2 separate regions of the Homo sapiens genome follow, and region 1 is linked to region 2. Evidence: promoter capture Hi-C in 16 types of primary human blood cells and fetal thymus (Javierre and others, 2016). All regions are on one chromosome and are shown on one strand. Each heading gives the region's core, a stretch centred on a gene start or on the middle of the fragment in contact. The rest is flanking DNA. Distances are from core to core; before and after follow the strand shown. Region 1 overlaps SAMD8 (sterile alpha motif domain containing 8). Region 2 holds the start of PPP3CB (protein phosphatase 3 catalytic subunit beta).

Region 1 (5,532 bases), core at 1,076-3,575, 1.6 Mb after region 2:
CAACTTTTTATGTGATTATAGGTTTGTAAAGTTGTTGGCCATTTCTTTTCTCTTCCTTCTTTTCTTTTCTTTCCTTTCTTTTTTTTTTTTGAGACAGAGATTCGCTGTGTTGCCCAGGCTTAAGTGATCCTCCCACCTCAGCCTCCCAAGTAGCTGGGAGTAGCTGGGACTGCAGGTGGGCGCCACCATGGCTGGCTAATTTTTGTTAGCATCAAGCGTTTTCTAAATGCTTGATTAAATCTAAATGGATATCTACTGTTTAATCTTCATGAGATGATAATTTGATTTGCAACAGCTTTTAAATTAGTTTATGTGTATGGGCTATGTGACATACCCTCAGATGCACAGTGGAATAGTAATTGTTTCTTCAAAGGATATGTGAATTCTTAGCTAAAAATGCTGAGATTGTTAAAGTATTAATTCCCTTTTCTTTAACTTAATACAAATTATCTTCAGTTGAAGTTTATGTAATATTACTGTTTGTTGGTTTTATCTTTAGAGTGAGATCCTCTGGAGACCTTATCTTCATACTTAGTTGTGAATAAAAGTCATGGCATGTAAAAATTTGCTGAACTGCAATATAAGAACTCTATTAAGATTACAGCTTAATGTTATTGCAAAATTAAAGAGAAACTGTTAGATGGAGTTGTACAATTAACATATTAGCATGTCTAATAGTTTTTTAATTTTTGTTTCCCTTTGTCAGTTCTCACACCCATTGAATAAAGAAAATCAGTTTTTGGCTAGGTGTGGTGGCTTACTCCTGTAATCCCACCACTTTAGGAGGCCGAAGCAGGCAGATCACTTGAGGTCAGGAGTTCAAGACCAGCTTGGCCAACATGGCAAAACCCCATCTCTACTAATACTATAAAAAGAATTAATCAGGTGTGGTGGCTCACACCTGTAATCCCAGCTACTCAGGAGGCTGAGGCAGGAGAATCTCTTGAACCCGGGAAGCAGAGGTTGTGAGCTGAGATCACACCACTGCACTCCAGCCTGGGCAACAGAGTGATATGTCTCAAAAAAAAAAAAAAAATCGGTTTCTCTAAGGCAGAAGAAGCCATCATGACTGCGATGGCAGAATATGCAGACATATTTAGGTAAATCAGTTTTGATTTCAGTACCATAACCCCCCTTCTGCAAAAGCTTATTCACATTGCACAGTTGCTTATAAACATTTTTTTATTTTGTTAATCATTAGATCCTCAATACTTCTTCAAAACTTTGCTGTTACTGATTAAGACATTTTCATGGCTTTTCTAAGAATTGAAATTTGAACACTTTTTTTGAGAAACTTAAATCACAGATGTTTCCATGAATAGTATTATTATTGTTTTATAAGAATGCCATGTTAACAAGCTATTCTTTCAAGATTTTTACTTCCAGGCCTGATGTAATATATGGTGTTAATTGTTGGGTGTACCTAGCATGCCCGTTAATTTATGGATGGAAATCTTTCCTGTCTTCAGATTCTACCCCCTTCATTTTTCATATGCCAGTGGATTGTTAATGAACTAAGATTGAATTCACTTTTTAATTTTAAAGCTTCTGTAGCTTTGATTCTCTTTGGACATCAAACTGATTTATACGAGATATGAATACAATTGCATATTCTGCTAAATTACCTATGAAGCTCTTTTGAATGATTGTGGTATTTGGTGAAAAAATACAGTATGAGCTAATCAAAATTCTTTTAAGGGATTTAGGTTATAGAGGAGGACTATACTATTTCATTCCCAGATTAGATTAAATGTTTTACTTATTTGCAGAGATGACAGGGGAGAGCCTTGATTATTTTCACGTCTCATGTATTTATATTTGTTTACAAATAAAGAGTTACTTATTTGCAAAATGCCGTATCTTTAATACTTGCTTACATGTGATTTTGGGAATTCTTTTGGAACCAGTTTTTGTTCTTGTTTTTGTTTTGCTCTAAGGGTATGATGTAACACATTGAGGGGTTAATAGTAGGGCAAGAACAGAGAAAGCCATTTGACAACAGATATCATCAGGACAGTGATGCTTACTTTAGGTCTTGTGGTTTTCTTGGCCTTGAGAAATCAAGATGTTAACTAAAAATAGGAGAGCATGGGCCAGGCACACTGGGAAAACAGATTGGTGTTTACATGCTACCGCTGTTGCTTCCTGGTAATTTGCCATATGAATGTGTGGGTATGGATTTGTAACAGACCTGTGATGTGAATATTCCTGAACCCCCTCCTCCCATACACACAGTACCATCATCACAGATCTGAAGCCTAACCTTTAGCTGAGTTCAGTGACTTCATGTTTCCGTATTGAAATGTTCTGTTATTGGGTCCTCACAATACTATAGAATGTAACATACTGCGGGCACGGTGGCTCACGCCTGTAATCTCAGCACTTTGGGAGGCCGAGGCGGGCGGATCACGAGGCCAGGAGATCGAGACCATCCTGGCGAACACGGTGAAACCCCGTCTCTACTAAAAATACAAAAAAATTAGCCGGGCCTCGTGGCAGGCGCCTGTAGTCCCAGCTACTCAGGAGGCTGAGGCAGGAGAATGGCATGAACCCGAGAGGCGGAGCTTGCAGTGAGCGGAGATCACACCACTGCACTCCAGCCTGGGCAACAGAGCGAGACTCCGTCTCAAAAAAAAAAAAAAAAAAAGACTATTAACTAAGAAAAACTTGGTTATAATAGTTTCACCACAGTGTTTCACCATAAAACAATGTTTTATGATATGTACCTCAGAAAAGAGTGTTGTGGGGCAGGGCAGTGAATTATATTTATATTTGTCTAAGTATTTTTTGGTAGTTTTTTTTTTTTAAAGATAGGGTCTCACTGTCTCCCAGGCTGGAATACAGTGGCGCGATCATGGCTTATGCAGCCTTGAACTCCTGGGCTCAAGCAGTCCTCCTGCCTCAGCTTTCTGAGTAGCTGGGACTATAGGCGTGTGCCACCACACCTGGCTAATTTTTTTAAATTTTTCTTTTGTAGAGATGGGGTATCAGCTATGTTGACCAGGCTGGTTTAGAGCTCCTGGCCTCGAGCAGTCCTCCCACCTCAGCCTCCCAAAGTGCTAGGATTACAGGTGTGAGTGTCTTAAATTTTTGAAGTGCATTTAGTTAAGCTTATGAGTTGTGGCAGAGGACAAGAGGTAGTAACATGAGTATCTGTTATCTTGATACTTGTTCTGTTGTCTTGAAATTTTTGACAGATAAATTCTAGTTGGAGGTGAGAACCATGGATTCTGCTAATTTAGGGCCTTCCTATAGGTTAACTGGTGTCACTGAGTTTTTGGAAATACTTGCAAATCTGTTTTAGTTTGGAACTTTGAGATTAAATGGAATTGATGTCAGTTCCATCAATATAATATTAGCATGAAAGCCAGAGATTTCCAAAACCATACATTAAAATTTGGCTGCAAATCCAATCCATTTTCACAATATTTAATGGAGTTTGAAGTCTTGAGCCAGTTTCTCATTTTCCATTATATTGATTAGATTTTGGATGTAGCATATTTATTTATTTATTTAGAGACAGAGTCTCACTTCGTTGCCGAAGCCTGGTGCAGTGGCGTGATGTCAGTTCATAGCAACCTTCGCCTCCCGGGTTCAAGCAATTCTCCCACCTCAGCCTCCCCAGTAGCTGGGATTACAGGCGCGTGCCACCATGCTCGGCTAATTTTTTGTGTTTTTAGTAGAGACGAGGTCTCACTATGTTGCTCAGGCTGGTTTTGAACTCCTCGGCTCAAGGCATCCACCCCCCTTGGCCTCCCAAAGTTGGGTTTACAGGCGTGAACCACCGCAGCCTGCCAGTGTAGCATATTTAAAAATAAAGATTTTACCAGCTGGGTGGGGTGACTCATGCATGTAATCCCAGCACTTTGGGAAGCTGAGGTGGGTGGATCCCTTGAGCCCAGGAGTTTGAGACCAGCCTGAGCAACATAGTGAGACCTCGTCTCTACTAAAAATACAAAAATTAGCCGGGTGTGGTGGTGTGCACCTATAGTCCCAGAACTCAGGAGGCTGAGGTGGGAGGATCACCTGAGCCCAGGAGGTCAAAGCTGCAGTAAGCTGTGATTGCGCCACTGCACTCCAGCCTGGGTAAAGAGTGAGGCCCTATCTTAAAAAAAAAAAAGGGTGGGCGTGATGGCTCACACCTGTAATCCTAGCACTTTGGGAGGCCAAGGTGGGTGGCTTACTTGAGGTCAGGAGTTCAAGACCACCCTGGCCAACATGGTGAAACCTTTTCTCTGCTAAAAGTACAAAAAAATTAGCTGGGCGTGGTGGCACGTACCTGTAATCCCAGCTGCTTGGGAGGCTGAGGCAGGAGAATTGCTTGATCCCAGGAGGCAGAGGTTGCAGTGAGCCGAGATTGCGCCATTATACTCCAGCCTGGGCTACAAGAGTGAAATGCTTTCTCAAACAAACAAACAAACAAAAAAGATTTTACCAAATTGATATGTTAAACTGCTAGCCTGGTTAGAATAAAAATTAGAATTTTAGATACTTAGCTTCTTTACTGGTTTGCTGTGGCATTGCAGCCAGGTCAGGAACCCTTTACCAAATTTATCACCAAAGTCCTATCATCGTGGAAAAATTTTTGGTATAACTGAGAATATAAAATGGACGGTAATATCTGTCAGATTCTTACTCATTGAGGGGAGACAGTTCTGGATTTGGTGTAGATAACTTGGTGCAGCCTGATAGTAGAAGTTAGTTTAAAGGCTATTTGGAACCAGAAAAAGATGTTATTTGGTATATATGACAACTTTTTTTGAGTGAAATTATAAGAGTTCACGGTTAGAGCAGCAAAAAAGTCCAAGAACTGAAGTGCAGCCAAGAGAATGATGATGTAACTGAGGAGGGAATTTAATTCTTTTAAAGATGCTGCCCTAAATTCTACTGCTCAGAAGTGGGACATAACAAAACAGAAAATCACCACTAAAGAGTTTCAAAATGGATGGTAGGAGTTAGTGCAAGGTCTTTGAAACTGTTTTGTAATTATTGCAGATTTTATCGATGTTTTGGAAACAATACCCTGTGCTTGCTAAGAAAATGCAAAATAGGCTGGGCACAGTGGCTTGCGCCTGTAATCCCAGCACTTTGGGAGGGTGAGGCAGGCAGATCACTTGAGATCAGAGTTCGAGACCAGCCTGGCCAGCATGGTGAAATGCTGTCTCTACTAAAAATATAAAAATTAGCCAGGTGTGGTGGTGTGCCCCTATAGTCCCAGCTACTTGGGAGGCAGAGGCAGGAGAATTGTTTGAACCTGGGAGGCAGAGGCTGCAGTGGGCTGAGATCACGCCGCTGCATTCCAGCCTGGGCGACAGAGCAAGACTCCGTCTCAAAAAAGAAAAAGAAAAATATCTTTCTATAAGTATAAAGAGAAAAGAGTAGTTTTTGTTTGCTGAATGAAAATGTTTTCATTTATGGTAAAAATTTTAAAATAGTATGGAAAAAAGTTGGATAATCCCAAATACTATAAACTACAGAGTTATTAATCACAAAGTTTAGCCATATATGCCCAAATTAAACCTTATCCTCCTA
Region 2 (5,689 bases), core at 2,678-5,177:
AATTCTAACGTTGTCAATCAGAAATACTTTAGCTTAAAAAAAATTAAAACACATAAATTCAGCATTTTGGTTCAATCTGAAAGTCTGATAATTTGAGGTTACTATAACCCATGAAATAAAATAATGTTAAGAAAATGACTCACATTGTAGGTGCTAAAATGAACATATGCCCAATACTGACAATGCTCTCTAAGTAAAAAGGTGAATTTTTTATTAATACTAACAGTCTTGATAATCTCAAGAGACAATCCAGCTTTACAAATCTAGAACCTGGTATACAAAGCAAAACGTACATTTTTTAAGTATCTGGGGAAAAAAGGAGGTATCTGGGCAATTCAGGTCAAGTAAACTTTGTGGGGAGGAGGGAAAGCAATATATATAAATTCAGGATTTTGTGCTTCAATTACCTATACCAGCTTTGCTGATGTGGTAAGAAAGCACACATGCAGATACGGTTAGATATTTTTCCTAATTTTTTTCCACTTTCTTATTTCCTACATAGCTAAAGAATGCTTAATAGAATATAATTAAAAGGGTATATACCATCTTGCTTAATCAGGTGGGTTAGATCAACTTTCAAACAGGGGAAGAATTTGACTTGAGCCAGCAGCTGGAGTAGGCTCAGAACTGAATTTAATCAACCAAAAACCTAATGACCCATAATCAATGACATGGAATTACCACTAATAATTTTAGTGACAAGCTCATCACATTTACTCATGAATCACCTACAGTATTCCAAGCTCCCAAACTTCACAAAAAGTGAATTTCAGGTATCTGATCTTAAACACAGAAAGACCTATACACCCTTAAAAACCTACATGACCATAAAATGTAGGCCTTATGACTACAAGCATGGAGTATAAAATTTTGACACTAAGAAGTTCCAGGGAGGCAGGCCGGGCGCGGTGGCTCACGCCTGTAATCCCAACACTTTGGGAGGCCACGGTGGGAGGATCATGAGGTCAGGAGTTTGAGACCAGCCTGGCCAACATGGTGAAACCCCGTCTCTGCTAAAAAATACAAAAAATTAACCGGGCATGGTGGCGCGCACCTATAATCCCAGCTACTCGGGAGGCTGAGGCAGGAGAATCGCTTGAACCCAGGAGGCAGAGGTTGCAGTGAGTAGAGATCGCGCCACTGCACTCCACTTGGGCAACAAGAGTGAAACTCCGTCTCAAAAAAAAAAAAAAAATTCCAGGGAGAAAAAGACTACTTGCATTCAATGCCAACAGACAGTCTCCATAATATCACTACTATGAAAATGTATCGATACAAAACTACCACCACATTGTGGACTTAAAAGAAATTTGGATTTTAACAAGTTAAACTTAAGCTGAACTCACATCATTTATCATCAGGCAACCAGTATTCTCTAATATCAGGTATCACATTATAGTATAATTACTGAATAAAAGACAAGGAAGAATCCTGAAGATGAAATTTAAAAGTGAATTTCTGGATCTGTAAGAAAGGTGAATTTCCCAGTAAATGCAGGAGACTCCATGAGCAGTGCAAATTAGTCTGTTACACACCATTTTAAAACATATAATCCATACAGGAATTCCAACTGGTTAACAAATTCCATAAAGAAATGAAAGTTGTCTCTATGAAGAGGGCACAATGAAGCACCAGAAATATGATAACCATAAGCTTTATTTAACTATAATTTTCTATATTAACAAGCTCCTTTCCTATTTATCTAAATCAAATGGCTTTTATTCCACACCAATAACCTGCAAATATGACTGCCTTGGACTCACAACTCACCCCTAAGGAATCTGCCTTATGTTTGGAATCTTATTTTCACTGCATTAAAGCAGTACAGAAAAAACATTACCATATATATGACAAGGAATAAGAAGATTCACAAACGTAAGGATAGCATAAACTCATTGTTCAGGAATGTGATTGGTTACCCCATCTAACAGTCTGGTGAAAAGTGCCCAGGGAAATGAACACACAACACAGAAATACAGTCAGAAAATGAAGAGGTAGCCAATGTCCCGTTCCCACCCCCACAAAACTCCAGGATTTCTTGATAGAATGAATGTCTGCATTACTATTTTTTTTTTAAGATTTCTCTGTATTAAGGATTCCATAAACTCGTTATTCAGCTCATTCCAATGCCTGGCCCAACTGGATATACTACTAACTTAAGCCTAGGTGCAAATCAGTGTTTTGTTTTTGTTTTTGTTTTTGTTTTTGGAGACAGGGTCTGGCTCTGTCGTCCAGGTTGGAGCACACTGGCGCAAATCTCGGCTCACTGCAACTTCTGCCTCTCGGGCTCCAGTGATTCTCGTGCCTCAGCCTCCCGATCCGCTGGGACTACAGGGGCGCGCCACCATGCCCGGCTAATTTTTATTTTTTGTATTTTTGGTAGAGAAAAGGTTTCGCCATGTTGCCCAGGCTGGTCTCCAACTCCTGAGTTCAAGCGATCCGCCTGCCTCAGCATCCGAAAGTGCTGGGATTACAGATGTGAGCCACCACGCCAGGCCAAATTAGTATTATTCTTTTAAGAACCGAAGAAGGCTCAGGTTGAAAATTTTTAATTAAAAAAAAAAAAGAAAAAAGGTTTCCTTGTTTTTAAATATTTTAATGGAAACATATGAGTCAGATTTCAAAAAGTAGGCTAACGGTGTTTAAATACTGTGCCAGTGTATTTGAGAAGCTGAATGAAAACAAAAGTACCTATATTTTAAAAATAAATACAATACAAATAAGGAAAAGTTCATTCTACGATTTCAATTTATCAATCAAGCTACATGGTAAAGAGAATCATTTCAATTGTTTTTCACCTCCACAGCAGTGTTTGAGGTTGGTAGGCTCTCCCAGGAAGCTTGGAATCTTAAGCAACTCTCAATTAGCCCTCAATTTCTCTATTTTAAATTAATCTGCTGACCTGTTGTGGGTAAACATCCATAAATTCTGCCCTGGCTGAGAAACATTTAACTTTTTCGTCTAGGATGAATGTGTGGGTGTGTGTTTGTAAGGGAGGGGTAACTCCTTTTGACCAAAGTGTTGATGGTTTTCTAAGTAAATACTTGCTATCCACAAGAATTTTTTTTTTCGTTTATGCTGCTTTTTCTCCCTTTCTGCACTATAAAGGCTGGCCTTCCAATTCCTGCCCCGACCCTTCACCGTGATCCAATCCCACAAGGTTCCCCTAATTTCTGCTCCGGGTGGCACCTGACGGCCAAAAGTGAACCCCTGCGGTTGTCGCCAGCTAGACGCGGATAGGGCGGACGACTGTCACCGGGGAGCAGGCGTGGGCCAAAGCCGAGGTGATTTCTGACTGCTCACTGGCGGGCCTCGCGTGGCTGAAGGTCTCCGAGCCCCTCGGTTCGCCCCGGCAAGCCAGAAGTGCAGCTGTCGCGGGGCAGGAAGCTAATCGCGGCCCCTGCGCCGCTTTGACAGGCCGAGTGAAGAGAAAACGGGCTCACTGCAGCTAACAGCCTCACCCCTTGGGCTAGGAAGCCACGGAAGCAAAACCTCCGCCCCGGCCTGAAAGCAACCGGGAGACCGCGGAACCACTGCCACCGACTCAGCCCTGCCCAGCAGGGGCCCGCCCAGGGGCCACTCCCCAAGGGAGGCAGCCAGTCACTCGCCCGCCCTTCCGGGCCCACTCCCGAGGGGACGGTCTCCCGCCCGCCCTCACACACAGCTAGCTCTTCAGGCCAGGCCCCCAGGGTTTCGTCCACCTCTCACCTTTGACGACGCGGTCAGCCCCGGGAGGGGGCGGCGGGGGCGGGGGTGGGGGCGGTGCAGCCCGGGCCGGCTCCGGGGCGGCCATGCTGGGCCCGGGGCTCGGCTAGGCTCTGGGCCGGGCGGGGTTGGGGGCGGGGGCGGCGGCTACCAGAGCCAAGCGGCGGCGCCGCCGGGGAACATGGCGGACCCTCTTTCCCTACAGAGGGGCTAAGACCGGCATGCACTGCGCGTGCGGGGGTGGGGGCGGGGTAGGCTCTAGGGACTTGGGCAAAATTACTGAAGCTAGGAGAGAAACAGGACGAGGCCAAGGGATCAGGTTAAAATTCTTTGCATGCAGAATGAAGAATGAGGAGGTGCTGCGATCGAACGACTGCGAGGAAACACACCCGCTCTCATGGCATTCCCAGTAAACTGAGAAGACGTGATTAAACCTCAGGATCTCCTACTAATAGAGAAATGTATAACGATTTAGCTACCAGATCTGAATACTGAAGGGTTGGTAGGGGACCAGAGAATAGAGGAAGCATTGTAGGTTCTAGAGTGGAGAAGGGACCATCCAAAATGGAGTTTGAAAGAGAATTCTGGCCTTTGTGTTTAGAGTCTGGAATTGTCAAGAGTCTGAAAGCACAGAATAAGACTGCAGCTAGAGCAATTTAGGCGCCATAGTTTGTCAAAACAGGTAAGGGGAATAAAGGGGATGACACCAAGAGATGTGCAAAGAATCTGAAGAATTCACCTGAAAAGGATACAACCTCCTCCTGGAAGGCAGAGGAGTAAATAGGGAATTGGAAATTAATTCCTTATTTCTGCACATGCACAGAATCTGGGCCCAGGTGACTTATGGAACCTTTATAGAGACCACGGTGACTGACACTCATGGGAAAGGGGGTAGAGGGGCAAGAACTGACTGTTCATCAAAAATTATTAGATGAGTGTGTCCACGACACCAGGAGATATGTTGAATCATGGACAGGGACCAGCATATCCACTAAGCTCTATATATCTTGATGGTGCAGGATCCAAGTGGGATGGAACAACCAATTCCTGCCCATCCTCCTGCTCAATAATACATGTGCTCAGAATCTGTTCATAATGCATGGTGGTAAGTAAGTAGTAGTCCGAAGGTCCAAGGAGTACCTTTCTACCTCTTCTTTGTGTCAATTTCTATCCTGAGACCCCAGGAAAAGAGGAAGGGAAAGACCCAACAATGGATTTTTTCCAAAAAGGGAACCCACAAGCTATTTTTTAGAGGGAAGAGTCTCGGGAGTGAGGCACAGGTGAAAATGGATCTTTCTGGCATGGAAGGGCCATAACACCACAGGGGAAGGGAAAGGGAGAGGCCCCCACGGAAGGAGAGGAAGGAAGGGACAGGAGGCACGTCACAAACTTATAAGATAGAGGGAAGGCACCTGGAGTACATTGATCAGGAGTGAGTCTGTAAGAAGAGCTTGAATCCCCAGAAAATCTTCCTAAGGAGGGGAGGAAGGAAGTGTATAATGTACTGAGTACTGAATGCTCTGTCAGGAAAGGGATGGGAAACATCCTAGCAGCAATACTAGAAAGGAAAGGCACCCTATTTTAGGACCCATTGATTCCCACCTTGATTGTATATCCTTCAACTCGTCTCTGGCTCCTCACTTCCACTCAGTCAAAAGCCACTTCATATATTTATCCAGACTTCCAGCCCCAATACAAAGAAAGCAAGAGCATACAAAGGGAAGAATGACAAGGAATTAAATAGAACTGTCTTATAGATTTATTAATGAAAAATACTTTACAAAAACAGTATGTTTGGCCTAAAATAGTTCAGCTGACTCTGAGGGTTTACATTGACGACTGAGCAAGTGGCAATAATGGCTGTGTTATTGAGGACAGAAGGCTGTGTTAGTGTGCCTGACTCCATCTGTTCAAAAGGGTGAATGTTATGTTGGCAGCTCCGCATTCTAGGCCTAAGGTTTGGAGGGCACAGGGAATGCTGACA

The links. Contacts are between HindIII fragments. The CHiCAGO score rates a contact against its expected background, and 5 or more counts as called.
Region 1: a fragment that was not itself captured here is called in contact with the fragment with the promoter of PPP3CB in region 2 in 1 of 17 cell types (fetal thymus); the score reaches 5.0 in fetal thymus.

Annotation. Positions count from the first base shown.
Region 1 is chr10:75,113,313-75,118,844 of GRCh38, forward strand. All of the region lies in intron 1 of SAMD8 (sterile alpha motif domain containing 8), which reads left to right. Among named protein-coding and RNA genes, the nearest start is that of SAMD8, 4.4 kb to the left of the region's middle. The HindIII fragment of the contact is 1,565 bases long and covers 1,544-3,108 here.
Region 2 is chr10:73,492,097-73,497,785 of GRCh38, forward strand. PPP3CB (protein phosphatase 3 catalytic subunit beta) reads right to left here and starts at 3,928. Exons shown (of 14, transcript NM_021132.4): 1 at 3,709-3,928. The coding sequence starts at 3,793. PPP3CB-AS1 (PPP3CB antisense RNA 1) reads left to right here and starts at 3,656. Exons shown (of 5, transcript NR_132104.1): 1 at 3,656-3,721; 2 at 4,046-4,387. It overlaps USP54 (ubiquitin specific peptidase 54), which reads right to left. Exons shown (of 24, transcript NM_001391956.1): 24 at 5,442-5,689. RefSeq lists enhancers at 2,995-3,454, 3,945-4,134 and a silencer at 3,515-3,864. The HindIII fragment of the contact is 5,148 bases long and covers 2,838-5,689 here.